Linked DNA regions of Homo sapiens: region 1 is linked to region 2. The links are contacts of gene promoters, found by promoter capture Hi-C in blood cells and fetal thymus (Javierre and others, 2016). All regions are on one chromosome and are shown on one strand. The core of a region is centred on a gene start or on the middle of the fragment in contact, and the rest is flanking DNA. Distances in the headings are between cores, read along the strand shown. Region 1 holds the start of OXSR1 (oxidative stress responsive kinase 1). Region 2 holds the start of OXSM (3-oxoacyl-ACP synthase, mitochondrial).

Evidence for each region. The method cuts DNA at HindIII sites, captures the fragments that hold promoters and counts their contacts. A CHiCAGO score of 5 or more calls a contact.
Region 1: the fragment with the promoter of OXSR1 here is called in contact with the fragment with the promoter of OXSM in region 2 in 3 of 17 cell types (activated CD4 T cells, total B cells and naive CD8 T cells); the score reaches 19.3 in activated CD4 T cells.

What each region holds. Positions count from the first base shown.
Region 1 is chr3:38,164,138-38,166,908 of GRCh38, reverse strand. It overlaps OXSR1 (oxidative stress responsive kinase 1), which reads right to left and starts at 1,372. Exons shown (of 18, transcript NM_005109.3): 1 at 963-1,372. The coding sequence starts at 1,032. LOC101928234 (a long non-coding RNA gene) reads left to right here and starts at 1,433. Exons shown (of 5, transcript XR_940733.2): 1 at 1,433-1,512. RefSeq lists silencers at 878-927, 978-1,367 and enhancers at 599-1,214, 1,608-1,707, 1,978-2,107, 2,258-2,337, 1,498-2,697. The HindIII fragment of the contact is 1,868 bases long and covers 1,318-2,771 here.
Region 2 is chr3:25,788,829-25,791,528 of GRCh38, reverse strand. OXSM (3-oxoacyl-ACP synthase, mitochondrial) reads right to left here and starts at 1,439. Exons shown (of 3, transcript NM_017897.3): 1 at 1,382-1,439; 2 at 1-539. The coding sequence starts at 508. It also overlaps a transcript of NGLY1 not described here. RefSeq lists enhancers at 1,142-1,211, 1,222-1,291, 1,431-1,960 and a silencer at 1,394-1,613. The HindIII fragment of the contact is 1,038 bases long and covers 1,068-2,105 here.

The DNA of each region.
Region 1 (2,771 bases), core at 123-2,622, about 12 Mb before region 2:
TTTCCTTGAAATCACCCTAAGTAGATCTCCAGGTTATTCTCTATCAGAACATCTTGTTTATCTCCTTCATGGCACTTGCCAAAGCCTCTTCAAATTTTTTTTTTTTTTTTTTTTTTTTTGAGTCAGAGTCAGGGTTTGTCGCCCAGGCTGGAGTGCAGTGGCGCGATCTCAGCTCACTGCAAGCTCCGCCTCCCGGGTTCAAGGATTCTTCTGCCTCAGCCTCCCGAGTAGCTGGGATTACAGGCGCGCACCACCACACCCAACTAATTTTTGTATTTTTAGTAGAGACGGGGTTTCACCATATTGGCCAGGCTGGTCTCGAACCCCCGACCTCGTGATCCGCCCGCCTCGGCCTCCCAAAGTGGTGGGATTACAGGCGTGAGCCACCACGCCCAGCCCTTCTTACTTCTTTTTGTCTTCTTATTTAATGTCTACCTCCCCGACTGGAAAGTCAGTTGGAAGGAGTCGTAAGTTGGGTCTCGGTTGCTCAGCGCGGTTCCTGCAGCTTCACCTGGAGGATCCCCAGTTCGCCCCAGCACGGATGGAGGAAAAACTTAAAGCTCCCTATCTATCCCACAATCCCAGAAATCGATGGCTGTGCCCACTTCAAGATCCCATTTCTCACACAGCCTCGGAAAGGCCTGTCCCACACCTGCACTTTCTTTCTCTACAAGACACATGGGCCGCTCCTGTCCACACATTTGAGAATCCTGTACACAAATCTCTCCTGAGCCCCCTCAAGCCTCACCCCACCCCACGCCACCTCACAGGCGCGCGCCTCAAAACCCCCTTCCCGTCTCACACGCGCTCCTCGACACAAGCGTCCTACAAGCCCCCAGCCCCACAAGCGCCCCACGAATTCCTATGAGGGCTGCGCTCCCCGAGCTCCCGCGGCTCCCCACGTTCCCGTGTCCCCCGCCTCCCAGCGCCGCGCCTCCCCCCTCCGCAGCGCCTGCTCTCACCGATCACCTCCTGCAGCTCGTAATCGTCCCTGTTGATGGACCAGGGCAGGGCGCTCGAGTCCTCGGACATGACGGCGGCAGCGGCTCGCGGTCCTCCCTCAAACTCGCTGACCTCGCTCGTCTCCTCGCCGCGCGTCTCCCCACCCCCAACAGCCGCCGCCGCCGCCGCCGCGCCCCCACCAATCGTCTCGGAACAGCCACGGGTCGGACGGCGCCGGGGCGCGGGGTCACCGCGCGGCAGAGCAGCGGGGGCTCAGAGCTCCGGCGGACCTCGCCTCCTGCTCCTCCGAGTCCGGCACTGCCCGGCCCAGCCCACGTCCTGTCCTCGGCCTCCGCAGCAGCAGCGACAGAAGCTTTGCCTGGGCCCAGCCCCTCTGTCCCGCCCTCCACCCCAGCCCCACGCACGGGCCAAACTTTCCCCTCTTCCTCCACCTGCCGACACGCAGCGCGCTGACGTCACTGCGCTGGTCACGCCCCACCTCGGGCCCGCCTCCGGCCGCCATCTCCAGTGTGGCTGGATGTAAAGTGAGCAAGCTAGAAACCCGAGAAGGTAGGAGTTCGCGGTGAAAGGGAAGAAGTGCTTAGGTAGAGGTTCATCGAAGGCATCGAAAAGCCGTAGGAGAGCCTCAAGTAGCACAGAGGCAGTAGCCACACTAAGCATGGCGACCAAAGGGCAGCAAAGTAGAAGGGGCAGAGCCACTTCTAGCGCCTGGGGCACGCTGCTGTCTCCGTCGTCGCATTCATTGGTTTGTTTGAGAAGGAATCAGAAAAGCAATGGGTGTGGGTAGACGTCAGTCATAAATTGGTCCCGCCTCCAGGCTCTTAGCGCGCTTCTCCGTGTTAGGGCTGCAGCCCTTCAAGAGCTCCGTTACCGCGCTCGTCTTACCACTTCCTCTGGAGTGACGTCACGGCGTAACCGTCACACCCTCGAGACGTGCGAAAGGCTCTACAGGGTGTGGAGAAACCCTGAGGGAGCGGCTGGGTGGGGTAGCCTTTGGGTGTGGACCACTGCCAACTAGGATAAAAGGCCTTGGGCCACTGGTCGGAGTGAAACTGGAAGTTTGCCTGGTGACATTTTTTTCAAGGCGGACGTTCTCTCTAACGCTTGTCGCGGCGCTGTCTCTCGCGGGTCCACCCTGCACTGGGCGGGTTCTGTCCATTCGCAGCTTTAGATCTGAAGCTCAAATAAGCACCTGCCTTGAGGGACTCGGGAGGTTGTCTTTCTTCCCCCCGGACAGGGCTTGGGGTATTAAACAAGTGAGATCGACCCACGGATTTGGGGGTTGTCTCACGGGCGTTGGCTTTTGTCGCCCCCACTGAACAGTTTTCTCAGTTTGACTACGTACGGCCGTTAGAGAAATTAGCGAGCTGAAGACTGAACACGCTTGGTAAATTGGATTTTAAAAAATAATGAGCATCCAACAGGGATAGGGCTAGGTGCGAAACTGTTCTAGGTTGGACACCTTTCAGTCCAACGGCAGTCTTTAAGGAAGAGACCTTAGGCCGGGTGCGGTGGCTCACGCCTGTAATCCCAACACTTTGGGAGGCGGAGGCGGGCGGACCACCTGAGGTCAGGAGTTCGAGACCATCCTGACCAACATGGTGAAACTCCCTCTCTACTAAAATACAGAAAAATCGCTGGGCGTGGTGGCTGGCGCCTGTAATCCCAGCTACTAGGGAGGCTGAAGCAGGAGGCGAAGGTTGCAGTGACCCGAGAGCATGCCACTGCACTCCAGTCTGGGCAACAGACGGAGACACCGTCTCAGAAAAAGGAAGAGACCTTCACCTAGGCCCAGCTGAGACGGAGCA
Region 2 (2,700 bases), core at 190-2,689:
TTGTCTGAAAATTCAAAGCAGTTTCAGAAACAACTTCAAGAGGAATCATTCCCATGCCAATTGCAACACCAGTAGCCACTTGATCAGCTTCTGACTGAGGATGCCAGCCAGAATCCTTCATGGCTAATTCTGCAGCCCCAATGGCCATGATGGTGGGAGAAGACATGGACTTGATATCTGATTTGGACACAAAGTTTTGTTCATTGAACTGACCTTCATCACTACCTCTTGGCACATAAGCAGCAACACTGCAAGGGATACTCTTATACTCTTCACCAACCAGTGAAACAATTCCACTCTCTCCTCCGATAAGACGATCCCAAACCAGGTGAGTTCCAACACCAAGAGGAGTCACTAAGCCAATGCCTGTAATGACAACTCGCCTATGCAATCTGGATATTGGCACAGTTCCGAAAAACTTCCTTTTACTTCTTAACTGTTGGCATAATCTTGAACATAGAAGACGAGTGCTTGTAATTTTCAGGAAATTTTGCAGGCAGTTGGACATGATTAAGATTCAGATGATCAGAAACACATTCCTGTAAAAGACCACAACACACCTAGGAGGTATTCTTTTAAATAGCTTAAGGGCCTAAGGAAAAACATCCAAGGTGTTCCTTTGGGTGCTTGATATGAGCTGCTAATGAACACAGGGAAAATGTTACATACTTTCAATTTATACCTTAACATCAAACTATCTGTTTAAACTTACCTTCTTTTTTAGACCTTAAGTGCCGTCAGACATTTGAAGACAAATAAATGAATTGATGATTCATTCGAGTCACCAAAACAGTAATTCAATGAAAAATATAAAGGCACCTCCAGCCTGATTTGAGCTGCAGGAAGCATCCTTTGTCAGGATTACTGATAACTTCTTCTAAATAGCATTTCTGGTGTCAGTGGCACAGAAAACACATTTCAGGGCATATTCTTTTAAGTAAGTAAGTGGGCTTTATCAATCTTCAGTACTTAAGGATAACCAGCCTTTTCAAAACGCTACCCAGGGCCAAGAGCCCTAGACTGAGCGTCTGGATACATGGGTTGGCAATACACTCTGTGACCAAGCTTGCGATGGGGGAAGGGGACAAGTCTTTCCACTCCTCTAAACTTCTCCAATTGAATCATTGGTGGAAGGAGGGGTTACGACTAGTGGATCACTTCAAGGGTACTACGAAGGCCAGGGGCGGGAGTAAAAGAGTGTAGCCATTCCCTGTATCGCCTCTCAGGCACCACCACACATGTACACAGCCCGAAGAAGCATGGCGAGAGAAAAAGAAATCAGGCCCCAGGTCCTCGGACTCCCCTCTCGAAATTCAACCCCGACTTGATTTGAATGTAAAGGAGGAAAGGAGGGGCGAAGGAGGAGGGTAGCCAGCGATACCTGTAACGGGGCTACCCCGGACACTTCTCCACAGTCGGGGGCGATGACGCTCTCGAGCGCACGCGCACACGCACGTACGCTCATGCGCGCTCGCACGTACGCTCATGCGCTTTCCCACGCACGCGTCCCGTTCGACTCTCTTTCCGCCGGTTGACTTTAAGCCGCGTCACCTTGGCTGAGGTCAGACCGTGGGAGGCGGCTGGGTAGCTGTTTGCGTGAGCAGAGACGCCCCTCTCGGAACCTCAGTGACTCGCCGATAATCGAGGACCTGCCAATAACGCGATGAGGTAGCATTTTCACCCATCAAAAAGGCATTTTTCTTTGGCAGTGATAATGCCCAAATATTCCCTTTTGTCGGAGAAGGGACACCATCGTATTCTACTGGAATTGTAAGAAAGAATTAAGGAAATTCTCTGCAGTTTCAAAGTTATTGCTATAGCTCGCAACGTTATTAGTAATTGTGAGTAAAGTGGAATTAACCAAAATGGCCAACATCAGGAAATTTGTTGTGTATCTTGTGGTACATCCAAATGCCATGCAGCCGTTTAAAATAATTCTGCAGGTGAATATTTATTAATGAGATGTTGCGACTATTTGTTAGGAGACATAGTTACAAAACAGTATATATCCGTTTTTTCAAAAATAATTCTTTAAAGGTCTGCAAGATGTATACTGATTGTGATCTTTCCCTCCTTATTTTTGCTTAGCTTTATTTAATAAAGCTTTTCTACAATAAACAAATGTTTTTGTAATAAAGTTTTTACTTTTTAAAAGTTGTCACCAGGCTGTTCTGCCTATGGAGTAGTCATTCTTTGTTCCTTTACTTTCCTAATAAACTTCCTTTCACTTAAAAAAAAATTATCACCAGATTTGAGACAGTGCTCAAAAATTGTCTCCATTGTCACAATGGAGACATTTGTTTCTAAGTGTGAAAAATTCATTAACTGTTTGCTTAGAGCTGACTGCAAACCGATAAAGGGAAAATATAACATGAAAATGTAAAAAAGCAAGAAGTCGACAAGATGGTATTCATCGAACATCTGTTTTTCACATGCTATCCCAGGCGTGAGTTTTGTCCTTGCTCTTCTTTAGAAAAATGGTTGAGCATAGAATCTTCATCTGGACCTTCTAGTCATATTTATGGTTTTTTCTGGGCAATGCCTCTTGAAGCCATTGTTTCCAAGTAGAGTGCTCTGCATTCTTTCCTACCCCTACAGAAGAATGTGAGTCAAGCTTAGCTTTCCAGGTTGGTCCTGGATTTAAATGAGTTTGGAAATCTATTTTGTTTAAAATAATTCAGCAAAGCTCAGTTTGACCTT